Linked DNA regions of Homo sapiens: all the other regions are linked to region 1. Evidence: promoter capture Hi-C in 16 types of primary human blood cells and fetal thymus (Javierre and others, 2016). All regions are on one chromosome and are shown on one strand. Each heading gives the region's core, a stretch centred on a gene start or on the middle of the fragment in contact. The rest is flanking DNA. Distances are from core to core; before and after follow the strand shown.

Region 1 (2,762 bases), core at 188-2,687:
ATCCAGAATCTTCCTTTGATCTATCTTAACACATGCTTATTAGATGTCTCAAACTGCTAATTAAAAAAACAAAACTTTAAAAAATACTTTATTCATTTTTGCATTTCTGTCCCCAGGGACTAGGACAGTCCTTTGAATATGGTAAATATCCAATAAATACTTACTGATTTAATTATTTTTCACAACACATCATTAGCTTACAATTTTTATTACAATGAAAGTAAATCAATTTCCTAAAATTCTTCCCTTGCCCCATATCGAGGTGCAATTATTCAGTAATTAAAAAAATATAGCTCCAATAAATGCAGCTGGTCATAAAAATTATTTCAGTAATATCACAATCTACTAGAAGAACCAGGAACGAGTAGCTAATTTTCCAATTCCAGTTATCTATGTTACGGATTACGCTTTGTTATGACTGCAATTCCTTGGATTTCTCCCCTCTTCCGCCCCCGGGATCTTATCCAATTGATAAGGTTAAAATAATGGCTATTATCCTTCTGGCTTAAAAAGCCTAGTGCTCTTCGTTCCTTAAATCATTTCATGTGTAAATTCGGTGCTTAGGAAAGACTGTGATACAACATCTAAGAAGCTACATTTAGAGTTCAGTTTTAAAAAAATCGAGTTCTTGGCTGGGGAAGTGCCCAGGTGCAGGTTTGTTTTGTGGTGAGCGGTTCGCGGGGCCAGGTGCAAGACGCTCAGAAGTGTTTTTGGGTGTCGCTGGCCAACTATCTCCACATAAACTCCGTTTGTTTATTTGACAGCGTTACTGCAGAGGGGAGTTAGGTCCAGCGCCACTCAAACCAGATTTGTAGAGACTTAAAACTGCTTTGTCTGTTTTTTTTTTTTTAATCATAAAACCACCCAGTTGGATCCAAGGCAAATTTGTCACCTACTTCAGGGCCCCTCTGAGGGTCAGAAAGAATTATGAGCGCATTTGAACGCACGGCCCAAATAAAAGCAAACGCACGGAGACTTGCGGACTTGACAATTGTGAGAAATCTCTTAAAACTCGCCTGTGGAGCGGCGGGCGAAAGCCGCGGACGCCAGCAGTAGTCGAGGCCCCGGCGCGGACGGCAGGGAATGAAGTCGCCTGACTTTTCCTCAGGGTTTTGTTTTTCTGTCACGGAGGTACAAAAATAGCAAAGCAGGGGTGGGAAGTCTCCTGGCCGTGTTTTTTTTTTTCCCCCTCGCCAGGGATGGCACTGGGAAAGAGAAGGGAGGAAGCAGGAGCTGCACGGAACCCGTCCCGAGGGAGCCGAGGTAAACCCTGCACCAGAGTTAAGGGAGTCGTGCTCCTGCCACTTCCAGAACACTCCGAGCCGCTTCTGCAGGCCCCGCCCCCTGCCGGGGTTTCCCCGCCACCCGCTTCATTTGCATGGCGCTGCCCCTCCCCCGTTGCCATTGGCTAGCGCCGGGCCCCGCCCACTGCTCCCAGACCGCGGCAGGGTTCCGTCCCCCCGAGCCGCACGGAGCTGCGGGCAGCGGGCGGACTGTTAAACCGCGGCGGCGGCGGCGGCGGCGGCGGCGGCGGCGGCGGCGGCGGCGGCCGGGGCGGGAGCGGGGCGCGCTCTGGAGACGAGTCAGCGGCGCCCCGGGTGGGGGAGGCGGGCGGGCAGCTAGAGATCACCTCAGCAGCCCCCACCACGGCCGGACCGAAGGTGCGGCGGCGGAGGGGAGCCAGGGCGCCCCAGCAGGCGAGTGGCCGGCGTCTCAGCGGCGGGATGACGGGGGTGGGTCTTCCCTCTTGGGGACGGCGGCAGCGCGGGGAGGGGAGAAGACTGCCGGGTGGACTTGCGGGTCAGGCGACCGACCGGCAGCCCCTTCGCCCCCCGAATCCTCTGGGCTGCTGGACTCTGGTCTCGGCACGGGATCGCGCTCTAGGGCGGGGGTCTGACCGCAGCCAAATTTAAACGGCTAAACCTAACAGCCTTGGCAGCTGGGGAGGGAAGGGGTCTAGGGAGGGGTGGGGGCGGACCTGGACGCCGGTCACGTGGGGGGTGGGGCTTGGCAGACCTCCCTTTTGTTTTGGCTGGCGCGTGCGCAGAAGGCAGAACACGTGGTTTCCTGGACCCGCCTCTTGCCTCATCGGCTGAGCCTCACCCATTGGGGGTGTGGTGACGGCTCTTTTGAGGCGGCTCTGAGGCGGAGCCCACTGGATTTGATGAGACCCCTATTTTATTTATTTCACACTTTCTTTCAGGAAAACGTAGATTTGGGCTTTAGAGTTAGATGGGATAGAGCAGAATCTAGGGGATTTTTGAGGGACGGTGCTTCCAAGTTTGTGTCACCGGTGTGCTGAGGAAGGGACCGGTCTTGCTGGAAAAAGTCAGATTGCGTGGTGTTTGGTAGCAAGAAATACCAGGCGGTATCCTGGCCGTTTCAGAAACCACAGGAAAGGAAAGAGGCTGGCTTTGCAGTCGGGAGGGCAGGCACTGGATGGACGTTCTTGTAATGTTTTCTTACTCTGGGAGAGTCCGTTTTTGTTTGTTTTTTTGTTTGAACTGTGGTAAGCACATTCCGTTTTTGATTCCCCAAACTTCAGGACATTCATGTTCTGGCGAGGTTTAGGAGACAAACTTCCTTCGTCTTTAGCCAGTTTGCTTAACTTCATCTGAGTTTGGGTCAGTAATAATTTTAAATATTGCTGGATGGGGCAGGTTTGTTAGCCACAAAACCTAAGTGAAGTGAGCACTGCAGACAAAACTGGCAATTTCTGACTAGGAAAAAATGACTCTAAAAATAATTCAGTATTGAGAAAG
Region 2 (2,700 bases), core at 201-2,700, 2.4 Mb after region 1:
AAAACTTGTAGCATAATTGCGCAACTGAAGAGCGCCGCCGTGTCCCCGCCATCGGTGCGCCCTCCGACCCCCCGCGGCGCGCAAGTGCGCGGCTTAGCAGCAGGCAGCCGGGGACGGAAGGGCACGGGGAGGCCGGCGCCCTGCCCAGCACAGAACCCTGGGTCGGTATCGCTTCTCTCTGCGGGCGACTTCGGAACTGCCTGGGATTATAAACCTCGACCAATAAAGGACTCACATCTTTCTGGGTCTTCTAAAGGCAGAAAGAAATCCATTTTCTTGTCACAACAAGATTTTGTTAAGAGATGCAAAAGTAAAGGTCGAAGCCAGGGAGGCTGCGATAGTATGGGGGGAGGGGCGGCTACGATGGTGAGTGCCGCTGACCAACTACCTGGGTTCGAATCCCAGGGTTGCCATTTGGGCGGCTACTATGTGCCAGGTGATCGGAATACGGAGGTGAACTTGCTTGCCGAGGTCGCCCTTTCTTGGGGGAACTATGATTAGCTCGGTTGCCTTGGCCAAGTCTCAGTCTCGGTTTCTTCACCTGTAGGAAGTACCTGCCTCAGAATTGTTGTAAGGAGTGAGATCTTGTCTTAAGATGTAAACGGGCCGGGCGCGGTGGCTCACACCTGTAATCCCAGCATTTTGGGAGGCCGAGGCGGGCAGATCACGGTGTCAGGAGTTCGAGAACAGCCTTACATGGTGAAAGCCCGTCTCTACCAAAAATACAAAAATTAGCTGGGCGTGGTGGCGGGCGCCAGTAATCCCAGCTACGCAGGAGGCTGAGGCAGGATAATCGCTTGAACCCGGGAGACAGAGGTTGCAGTGAGCCGAGATCGCGCCACTGCACTCCAGCCTGGGAGACAGAACAACTCGTCTCAAAAAAAAAAAAAAAAAAAAAGGATGTAACCGATTAACACTTTGTTGGGCACACAGTAAAGGGCTCAGTAAGTATCCTCTCTTCTTTCACACAGTTCCAAGACAGCTCGGAAGGGAGACAGCCACGCCTAAGAGTGATTCCTTGAGCAGTTCTTTCAAAGAAGCACTGAACTCTGTAAGGACGCTTAGCTGCAGGCAGAAAGGGCAGGGGCCCTGGGAGCAAAGGTGCATAAGCCAGGAAGTTACAGGAGCGAGTCCTGCACCCAGGGCGCGGGCAGAGAACTCCGGAGGGACTTCTGGCAAGGGCTTCCCGCCCGGGTGCCCAGAGCGGCATGATTAGCATTCGCCCCGCCCCCATCTCCTCCAGGCCCGCGATTGGTCAGCGCTCCTTGGCTGCCCGCTCCTGGCGGGGCCAGAGGGCGCCGGGGGAAAGGCCGAGCCCGCGGGGCAGTGGGCGGGGACGCGCGGAGAGCTTGGCGAGGCGGCCCACCAACCGCGCCCGGGCCTGAGGGGGCGGAGCCGGGGCGGGGCTTCCCGGCGGGCATTAGAAGCAGGTGACCCGGGCGGGGCGGGAGAGGGCAGCCAGCCTGCGGCCGTGAGTCCGCTGTGGTCGCCGCCGCGCGCGGTTCCGTGCTCGCCAGAGGTGGGCGAAAGGGTGCGAGAGCGCGGGGGAGGAGCCGAGCAGGGCACGTCCCGAGAGCGTCGCCACCGCCCCCAGGAGTCCACTGGAGCGCGGAGCCCCCTGCAGGGGAGGAGGCGAGCGGCGGGCGGGACGCGGCGGCCGGCGCTCACCATGCAGTCCCGGCCTGGCCAGCGCCGGCTGCTCGCGGTGCTGTGAGGCGGCGGGGTCCCACGGCCCCCGCCTCCCGCCTTCCTCCCGCCCAGGTGCTGCCAGGCGCGCTCGCCCTCCGTCCGGCTCCCGGCCCCGGGGAGAACGCACGGCCTGCCCCTGCCCGGCTCCGTCTGGATCATGCGGGGGGCTCCCGAGGAGGAGAGGGCGAGTGACCGGCCTGCGCCGCCCCTGTTCTGGGGGCGCCCCCCACTCTGAGTCGCCCCCACCTGCTGCCATGTGCCGCTGCCACGGGTACCCAGCCTGTCGCTAAACTTTCCGGGCGCCAGCCCGGCTCTGAGTCGCGCTTCTCAGCGGAGTGACCCAGGGACGGAGGACCCAGGCTGGCTGGGGACTGTCTGCTCTTCTCGGCGGGATCCGTGGAGGTGAGAACCTTCCCTTTCTCCCTGTTCTTCTCCCGTTTCCTGTGCCCTTTTCCGGGAAGCTGAGGGTTCTGGTCTCCGGGCACTGCCTGAAGGGCCCAGCTTGGAAAGAGAGGGTGGGGGAGTCGGTAGTTTGGTTACAGGAGGCGGAGCGGGGAGGAAAGGAAAGGGGTTAACTTAAGAGATTTGGAGACAGCTCGCGGGGACCGAACTGTTGACGCCTCTCCAACAGGGAGTGGTTGCAATCTTTCTTCTCCCCCTTCTTTTTTAAAGAGTCCTTTCCCTGGAATCCGAGCCCTAACCGTCTCTCCCCAGCCCTATCCGGCGAGGAGCGGAGCGCTGCCAGCGGAGGCAGCGCCTTCCCGAAGCAGTTTATCTTTGGACGGTTTTCTTTAAAGGAAAAAGCAACCAACAGGTTGCCAGCCCCGGCGCCACACACGAGACGCCGGAGGGAGAAGCCCCGGCCCGGATTCCTCTGCCTGTGTGCGTCCCTCGCGGGCTGCTGGAGGCGAGGGGAGGGAGGGGGCGATGGCTCGGCCTGACCCATCCGCGCCGCCCTCGCTGTTGCTGCTGCTCCTAGCGCAGCTGGTGGGCCGGGCGGCCGCCGCGTCC
Region 3 (2,731 bases), core at 25-2,524, 2.5 Mb after region 1:
AAACCGAGAGGCGGAGGTTGCAGCGAGCCGAGATCGCGCCACTGCACTCCAGCCTGGGCGGGCGACAAAACGAGATTCCGTCTCAAAAAAACAACTTGTCTGCACCCCTGGTAATAACCTCTCACACCCTTCACAGTCATTTTACGCCCCTCCCCCCATTTTCTTTCTTTCTGTGTTCAAATTATAGTTGGAAGGAATAAAGCAGCTTCTTTCACGCCGACTTAACCTATTAGGAATACCATATAGTGTCTCCTATGGCAACCTCTATTTTGAGTCTAGATAAGAAATCCTCAAACATCTGGGTCTAAACTGTCGCGGGCATCAGCTATCTTCACGGATGGGAGGAAGGAACAATCAGACCCTTACCTGGTTCCTTCACTTAGGTACCATCTGGATGGGTTAAGGGAGGGAATGGGATGAGTACTCCGAAGTTGAGGTATTTGAGTTTCCATTGAGAAAAGGAAAACAATATACCCCAAAAGTCTTAGCAAAGTCCCACCAGACAATGAACAGAGCTACAAACAAGAAGGGCGGCGGACTAGAGGGTCCCACGCCGGCTTGGGAGAATGGGAAGCGGGAGCAAGAACTGGGCGTTACGGTAAGGAGGAGGAAAAGAAACTGGCCAGACGCAGCAGGGCAAGAATAAGGGGTGGGGACGCGAGGCAGAACCAGCCTTCGTCCCGGGGCCGGCTACCGGCAGGAAGGAGCCCGAGGCGGCGGATGCCTCCCGGGGGACTCTGGGGGAGGAGGCGGGCAGAGGTGAGCCCGAGGGCGGATGGCATCCGCCGCCTCCTTACCTTCGGGCATCTCGCGGTCGCTGATGTGCTGCAGGTGGTGGCCCTCGCCCTCTCCGAAATCCAACTCGGCAGGCTCCACCACAGCGGGCGCTACCGCCACCGCGTCCCCGGACACCGCCTCGTAGATGTCGGACGCGCAGTACAGCTCCGCCGACCCCGCGCGCCGGCCCAGCTTGGGGCTGGCATTGGGGGACACGCAACAGGTCAGCGTGTTCCCCATGGGAAGCCTCCGCTCCTCTCTGCCACCGCCTTCGCTCGCCCCCTACTCCGCCGCCCTCAACAGCCGCCCCCTCCCCCAACAATGGCGCGGCCGGCACCGGCAGCCCCGGGCTACGCTGGGGCTGCACCGCGCAAGCAGACGCCGCCTCGCCCGCGGTTCGCCCGCCCGCCCCGCGGCCCGGCCCCGGGCAGGGCTCGGGCCTCGGCCGCACCCCCACCGCCGCGCTGCCGCCGCCTCCCTTAAGCTGACTCGTCTGCGAGGGCGGTGACCAGCCCGGCTTATTTAAAAGGGGTGGGGAACCCAACAAGCGCTGTGAAGCACAGCCACTGCCGGGAGAGAGCGCGGCTGGAGCTCCTCCTCCTTCCGCCGCCGCCTACCGACTGAAGGCCGCTGGCCCTGGCCGGTGCCTGCCAACCGGAACGCGACCTGCGGTCACCTGGTTAGGAGGAACCAATCATGGTCAGAGTTCCCCCTCCGGCGCCCGCCTCGAAGCCAGGCACGTGACCTGCTGCCCCGCCCCCGCCTGGCAGCTGCCCAGCCCCTCACGCCGCTATCCCAGACTCGGGTTTTCATTCATCGCTGGCTGCTGGGAGCTTTCCGGTCCTACTGGAAGCGCACGGGCATTTGTAACTGGAAGCTGTGTCAATGATCTCTGTAGAAAGCCGTTATTAGTAAAGAGTTCGCTCCATTAGCAACTCTTCTTCCGAGTCTGACAGCTTTCGTTTGCTCACTAAACTTGGTTACACCCAAATTGTTAACTGTTTTTGTAACTCAGTGCTCCGCTCCTGTCTTCCAATGAGCGTTAGTTTTCACCTGCAACGTGATCATAGCAACCCTGGGGCCCTGGTCCTACTCTCCATAAAGAGTTGTGGCTGTGGGTCTTGAATGAGACTCGAGGACACGTCACCCTTCCACTTCCTCATCCATAAAATAGGGACCTAACTCGTCCCTGCCAACTCTGAAATGCTGGGACTCGCCAACTCCCTTTTCTTGCCTGTTTCTCTCCTCTAGGCAGGGACTTCCAGGTTTCTCTTCTTGTACTAAAAACAGCACAGAAAGCACGATTTTCTCACGCAAAACTGAGAACCATGCAGTGGGGCACCACAGTCTTGATTCCATGAAGATGAATAGTTACCATTTGGCAAGCACTATGTGCCAGACAGTGTTCCAACTGTGGTATATTTATTTAACCCTTAAAAACAATCCCGGCCGGGCGCGGTGGCTCATGCCTGTAATCCCAACACTTTGGGAGGCCGAGGCGGGCGGATCACCAGGTCAGGAGATCCAGACCATCCTGGCTAACACGGTGAAATCCCGTCTCTACTAAAAATACAAAAAATTAGCCGGGCATGGTGGCACGCGCCCGTATTCCCAGCTACTCGGGAGGCTGAGGCAGGAGAATCACTTGAACCCGGGAGGCAGAGGTTGCCGTAAGCCGAGATCGCGCCATTGCACTCCAGCCTGGGCGACCTAGGCTCCGTTTCAAAAAAATAAAACATAAAAATAAAAATAAATAAACAAATATATATATATACACACAATGTCACTTCCTCCCTAAGCTTGATTTCTACCTTTATTTTCTGATCATCATGATCAGGGACCCTCACCCTGAGCAGTCATGTAAGCTTGCGGAAGTAACTTAACTTCTGCGTCCCAATTTCTTCTATAAAACCTGCAAAATGGGATTGTTTTTTTTTTGTTTTTTTTTTTTTGA
Region 4 (2,808 bases), core at 209-2,708, 2.5 Mb after region 1:
TTTTGGGAGGCTGAGATGAGCGGATCACCGGAGATCAGGAGTTCAAGGCCAGCCTGGCCAACATGGTGAAGCCCCGTCTCTACTAAAAACACAAAAAAAGCCGGGTGTGGCGGCGGGCGCCTGTAATTCCAGCTACTTTGGAGGCTGAGGCAGGAGAACTGCTTGAACCCGGGAGGTGGAGGCTGCAGTGAGCCGAGATCGCGCCACTGCACTCCAGCCTGGCGACAGAGCAAGACTCCGTCTCAAACAAACAAACAAAATCCCACAAAAATTAGCTGGCGTGCTGGCGCAGGCCTGTAATCCTAGCTACACGGGAGAATGAGGCAGGAGAATCGCTTGAACCCGGAAGGCGGAGACTGCAGTGAGCCGAGTTCGCGCCCTTGCACTCCAGCCTGGGCGACAGAGAGAGACTCCGTCTCAAAACAAAAACAAAAACAAAAACAAAAGCAAAAAACCAAACAAAAAAATCAGCGCTCGGGCCCCCTCCCATGGCCAGCTCTTGGGGCGGGGGACTGGTAAGGGAGGTTTACCCCAGCTGGTTCTAACGTGCAGCCGCGCTGAGAGCGCAGCGGGCGGTGTGGGGCGAGGGGCCCCAGGAGGAAAAAGAAGCCTGCCCCGGGAGGATGCCGGTCCCCGCACGGTCCCACTCAATGGACCCACTCCAGCCGCGCGCTCTGCCAGGGCCTGCGGCCAGGGTACCAGGCCCTCGGCACCTTCCACGTCCAGCGTGGGTCCTCACGGGCAGGTGCGTCTTGGCATCGGGAGGAGGGAGACTGGGGCACTGGAGTCTGCAGCGCCGCCTGGGGCCGGGGCTGGAGCCGAGCGCACGCCCAGAGCTCCGCGCTTCCGACTGCAGCCAGAGCCCGCCGACCCCCGCCCCACTTTAAAAACTTGGACTCGGGCGCCACGTGTTCACTTCCCCCACTGTGCTTTAGTTGAAAAGGGTTTTGTGACTTTTCCACTCGATTGCCGCCAAGCGGGCTATTACGCCGCTTCTGACCCCACCGTGGAGACGCGGGGACTAGAGTGACCATGCCTTCTTCGGAGCGAGCTGTCTCCATCATCCGCTAACGCGCCACCTTTAAAAAACAGGCACAACGCGCAAGCGACAAAGTCAGAGGCAGAGAGCGGCGGAGCACATGATAGAAAAGGTCGAGAGGCACATTCAGCGCCAGGTGGGTGGCTTTTCTCTCCCGCTAGGAGAGCCCAGGGCACCCCATGCTCTCCCTGTGCACCCGCGGCAGTTCGGCACCCCGATCTCACTCTTGCTCCCGCCCCCACAGCGCCTCCCTCGGCGGCGGGGGAAACGGATTAAGTCGTCCGTGTACCCTGGGGACGCACGAGGGAAAGCCCCGGTCCCCCCTCCCGCAACGTCACTCCTCCACCGCGCCACGGCCCGGCCCCGCCCTCGCCGTGAGCTCCGGGGGCACCTGCCGGAGGCTGGGTGCCGGGAGACCGGAAATGCGTGGCTCCGGGCCGGGGCCGCCCGCCCCCGCGTCGCGGGCTCTTTAAGGCCGGCGGTTTTCGCAGCCAGCCCGGGGCGGGGAAAGCGGAGCGCGCGCTCCACGCGGGACCGCCTCCCGGGCCGTAAGTACCGGCGTGGCGGCGCCTCAGCCCGGCCTGGGCGAGCCCTGGGTGCTCCGCCGGGCAGCTCACGGCGCCCCGTATGGCCTGGGGATCCTAAGAGGCCCTGTGACCCCCCTCGCCTGGTCTCCCTCTCACCCCTGGAGGGTTGCCGCAGCTCCGGGGCCCCCGGGCAGGAAGGGCGCACTGGTCGTCCCGGGAGAGGGGTGAGTGGGGGGCAGCTATAGGGGGAGTTCGGGGAGGCCTCCGAGTCCCCGCTGTCCCCGCGAGCCGCTTGGAGGCCCCCAGTGTCGCTCACTTCCAGGGTCGGGGAGACGGAACTGCGGCGACCATGTATTTCTGGTTTATCAAACCGCTAACACCCAGTCTAAGGGCAGGTTCTGTCCCATTGTTATCACTATCGAAGCAGCCGATGGAGGAGGGGAGGTGGGTAGCGAAACCGTAGCGAAAGAACCCGGGCCGCCCGGCTGGCTGCAGCTGCAGTCCGGGCGCCCGGGTCTGGGTTGGAAGCGCTGCTTTCCGCGCTGCTCTGGGGCCCTGGGCGATCACCGCCGCTTCCGCCGCTTGTGTAGTTCTGAATTCACGGAGTGGTAGCAGTGCAGTGTATAGGGTATTCTGCGGAAGTTGGAATGTTCTGGGCTTTTTTTTTCTTCTTCCCCAAACACATCCGTTGACACAAATTCCGAGCCAAATCTCACTCAGATTCGGAAGAGCCATGCAAAAGAAATTGGACAAAGGCTTCCTCCACCTGTTTCTTTTTTTCTTTTGAACTTGTAAACGACCTTAAAAGCATTTGGAGTTAGTTAAGAACAGATAATGTATCTTTTGGCCAGAGCGTCACCCAGGATTCTTTTGCACGGCAGGTCTGAGCAGAGGGCGGGGTGCAGGCGGAATGGCCCTCGTGCCCTATGAGGAGACCACGGAATTTGGGTTGCAGAAATTCCACAAGCCTCTTGCAACTTTTTCCTTTGCAAACCACACGATCCAGATCCGGCAGGACTGGAGACACCTGGGAGTCGCAGCGGTGGTTTGGGATGCGGTAAGTAAGCCCTGGGGGACCTCTGAAAACGTTCACACTTGCAAGACTGGCTTTTATTTTTTATTTTTTTTAGAACAGCTTTATTGAGATATAATTCACATAGCATACACTTTACCTATTTAAAGTGCACAATTCAGTGCGGTTTTAAAAATACAGTATATTCACAGAGTAGTGCAACTATTACC
Region 5 (2,700 bases), core at 153-2,652, 2.6 Mb after region 1:
TGGATACTTTAATGTCTATTTTTAGTAGTAGTATTAAATCAATCTCTCATTAAAGTTCACACAGAAATTCGTGGGAAATATGGTAGGGGGAGTGGGACGGAGGGTGAGGGGAGATCCAGATGACCCAAACGCGGTTGGCAAGGTTGCACCCCGCGAAATGATGTAAAACAAGAGTACATCGGCTGATACTCGTTCCAACGAAGTGTTTCAGAATGATAGATCTCAAGTGATGATTACCTTATTAAAAAGGGTTAAAACCGAAACTGTTTTCAAACACCAGCTTCCCTTTTATAAGATCCCAACAGTTTAAAAAGTTATTATAAATGTTTTTCTTAGCACCCTTTCTCCCAAAAAGCATGCATTTCCATGACTGACTTTAAAAAAAAAAAAAAAGCAAAGGGGTGAGGGAGTCAAAAATTCCCCCCAAAAGCACAAGCTCTCATCTCTCAACTAAGCAACACAGGGCAGAAAGCAGCATTTCCTCAACGGTGTAGGAGCGGGGGGGAAAGGGCACGAATAAAATACAGCACGAGAGGAAACCTTGGGTTTCGAACTTTATTGCACAAAGAGTGGAGAGAAGAGTAGGTCAGACGTTGCAGCTCTTCCCCTTGCGAAGCGGGCATGGCAGGCACCGAAGCCACCGGGAAGGCAGCAGGCACCTTCACCTCCTCTGCCCTCAACTGTCGCCTTCTTCCTCCTCCATCCCCCACCGGCACCTAGGCGGCGGCTGCCCCGGAGGCCCGGCCGGGTCGGGCCGGGGGCGAGGCGGGCGGCGGGGGCCGGACGAGCGAGCGGCGCGGGGGGCAGCGCCGGGCCGAGCGGGCGGCCTCCCCCGGGGCGGCTCCGGGTTCCCGGCTCCGCGCCCGGCCCGGCGGCGGCGGCGGGAACGCGGGCGCCAGCTCGCCGCGGCCGGCCGCCCGCACACACCCCCGGCCGCCGGCTCCCACCCCGCCCGCCGCCCGCCGCCCGCCGCCCCCCGCCATGAGCGCCGCCGCTGGCTGCAGGCAGAGTCGCTGCCGCCCCGGCCGCCGCTGGCTCCAGTCCGCCGCCATTATTCTTTGTTCGCTGCGAGCGGCGGCGATGTTGTGGGGCTCGGGCGGAGGCTCCATCTTTACCGCGGCCCCTCCTGCGAGGGGAAGGCCCCAAGCGCGGGTGTCCGGCGCCTCCCCGTCCCCCCTCCGTCCCCCCGGCTCTCTCTGGCTCCTGCCTCCTCCTCCTGCTCCTCTTACCGGTGGTACAAGCTCCTCCGTCACTGCTTTCGTTCACGGCCCGGATCTCGCTGGAGTTTTATTCTCTCCCCCACGTAACACACCGCGTCAAACTACACCTCCGCCGCGTCACTCACCAACACTCCGCTTCTCCCAGCCGCCCGGGCCACAGGCAGCAGCAGCCGCCGCCGACTGAGGAGCCGCAGCCAGGGAGCCAGCCAGCGCCGCCCAGTGCCGAGTGCGCAGCGGCCGCGCACGGAAACAGCCGAGCTAGGCCCGGAGCAGCTCGAGCGGCCCCGCCCCCGCGCTGGGGACGGAACTTGCCGAAGACCTTCGGGTTTCTTCGGGCGACGAGAAGGGGTTCCGCGGGGAGAGGGAAGGCGAAGGCGGGCTGAGCCCGGCGCCGGGAGGAGTGGTCTAAACTCCACCGCGGCTTTCGCATCGGTAAAGCCGGCAGCGGAAATTTGAAGGAGGAAGCGGGGTTTGTGTGTGGCCCAGTGGGGGAATTCCCGAGGGGTGTCGGCGACTTGGTGGAAACCCCCGCTCAGGCCTGCCCCTGCGGCGGTGAGCGGCGGGCTAGAAGGCGGCTGCGGCTGCCCTGGCTCTGCTCTTGACCGCCGCCAGCCCCGGGAACTTTCCGACGCCGCCGGGAGACGGGGGACGGGCAGCCCGGGCTGGGACGCGGCCGGACCGCTGGAGCCGTGCGGGCTGGGGAAGAAGGTCTGCTGCGCCTCTGCCAACGTCCCGGGGCCTGGGACCCGGGGGCGTCGTGGGACCCCCGTGGGGACGGGTTTTCCTTTCCGAGACTCCGCGGAGAAACCTGGCGGCCGCCAGCGGAGCATGCTTTTCCGGGGGGCGCTGGCCCCGATACTGTGGCACCTTGCGGGGCTCTGCCCGGACCATGGCTGACGTCGACGGCCCTCGGAGGCCTCCAAGCCACACAACCTGCCCGGACCCCTGGAAATATGCCCCATCCTACCTCCCCGCCTTTCTCCAGACAACATCCTGTGTCGCTTTCTTTCCTCAGCCTGTTTTCTACAGCAGGGATTCGCACCCACTGCACCCTAAACCCAGCAGGGGGACTTCCGTGGCTGGAAACTACTGAATTGTTCTTTCAGAGGTCTCTCAGGACGGCACCACTAGGTCCCCATTCTCCTTGATAGTGAACTCTGCAGCCCTCTCCTTGGGGTTTCAAGTCTTTTTTTTTTTTTTTTTTTTTTTAATGAGACGGAGTCTAGCCCTTGTCGCCCAGGCTGGAGTGCAGTGGCACGATCTCGGCTCACTGCAACCTCCGCCTCCCGGTTTCGAGCGATTCTCCTGCCTCAGCCTCCCTAGTAGCTGGGATTACAGGCACCTGCCACCACACCTGGCTAATTTTTGTGTTGTTAGTAGAGACGGGGTTTCACCATGTTGGCCAGGCTGGTATGGAACTCCTGACCTCAGGTAATCCACCCGCCTCGGCCTCCTAAAGTGGTGGGGTTACACGTATGAG

What was found. Contacts are between HindIII fragments. The CHiCAGO score rates a contact against its expected background, and 5 or more counts as called.
Region 2: the fragment with the promoter of FZD5 here is called in contact with the fragment with the promoter of KANSL1L in region 1 in 1 of 17 cell types (neutrophils); the score reaches 17.7 in neutrophils.
Region 3: the fragment with the promoter of CCNYL1 here is called in contact with the fragment with the promoter of KANSL1L in region 1 in 1 of 17 cell types (neutrophils); the score reaches 8.7 in neutrophils.
Region 4: the fragment with the promoter of METTL21A here is called in contact with the fragment with the promoter of KANSL1L in region 1 in 3 of 17 cell types (monocytes, fetal thymus and neutrophils); the score reaches 6.7 in monocytes.
Region 5: a contact is called between the fragment with the promoter of CREB1 here and the fragment with the promoter of KANSL1L in region 1, in 4 of 17 cell types (neutrophils, monocytes, total CD8 T cells and 1 more). The highest score is 11.2, in neutrophils.

What each region holds. Positions count from the first base shown.
Region 1 is chr2:210,170,084-210,172,845 of GRCh38, reverse strand. It overlaps KANSL1L (KAT8 regulatory NSL complex subunit 1 like), which reads left to right and starts at 1,437. Exons shown (of 15, transcript NM_152519.4): 1 at 1,437-1,697. RefSeq lists enhancers at 508-1,141, 1,142-1,777, 2,171-2,350, 1,778-2,412 and silencers at 1,221-1,550, 1,671-1,980. The HindIII fragment of the contact is 7,802 bases long and covers 1-2,762 here.
Region 2 is chr2:207,768,656-207,771,355 of GRCh38, reverse strand. It overlaps FZD5 (frizzled class receptor 5), which reads left to right and starts at 1,450. Exons shown (of 2, transcript NM_003468.4): 1 at 1,450-2,091; 2 at 2,362-2,700. The coding sequence starts at 2,617. RefSeq lists enhancers at 1-385, 550-599 and silencers at 1,150-1,829, 2,170-2,229, 2,640-2,699. The HindIII fragment of the contact is 9,976 bases long and covers 1-2,700 here.
Region 3 is chr2:207,710,183-207,712,913 of GRCh38, reverse strand. It overlaps CCNYL1 (cyclin Y like 1), which reads right to left and starts at 1,274. Exons shown (of 10, transcript NM_001330218.2): 1 at 798-1,274. The coding sequence starts at 1,017. RefSeq lists silencers at 451-610, 623-732, 1,153-1,602 and enhancers at 474-1,470, 1,823-1,872, 1,883-2,082. The HindIII fragment of the contact is 3,390 bases long and covers 1-2,578 here.
Region 4 is chr2:207,624,044-207,626,851 of GRCh38, reverse strand. It overlaps METTL21A (methyltransferase 21A, HSPA lysine), which reads left to right and starts at 1,458. Exons shown (of 4, transcript NM_001127395.5): 1 at 1,458-1,790; 2 at 2,448-2,623. The coding sequence starts at 2,477. RefSeq lists enhancers at 1-287, 288-992 and a silencer at 1,263-1,862. The HindIII fragment of the contact is 10,824 bases long and covers 1-2,808 here.
Region 5 is chr2:207,528,664-207,531,363 of GRCh38, reverse strand. CREB1 (cAMP responsive element binding protein 1) reads right to left here and starts at 1,402. Exons shown (of 8, transcript NM_004379.5): 1 at 1,230-1,402. It overlaps LOC124907970 (a long non-coding RNA gene), which reads left to right and starts at 1,767. Exons shown (of 3, transcript XR_007088060.1): 1 at 1,767-1,928. RefSeq lists silencers at 94-263, 974-1,023, 1,054-1,183, 1,854-2,033 and enhancers at 1,274-1,373, 1,634-1,833. The HindIII fragment of the contact is 5,804 bases long and covers 1-2,700 here.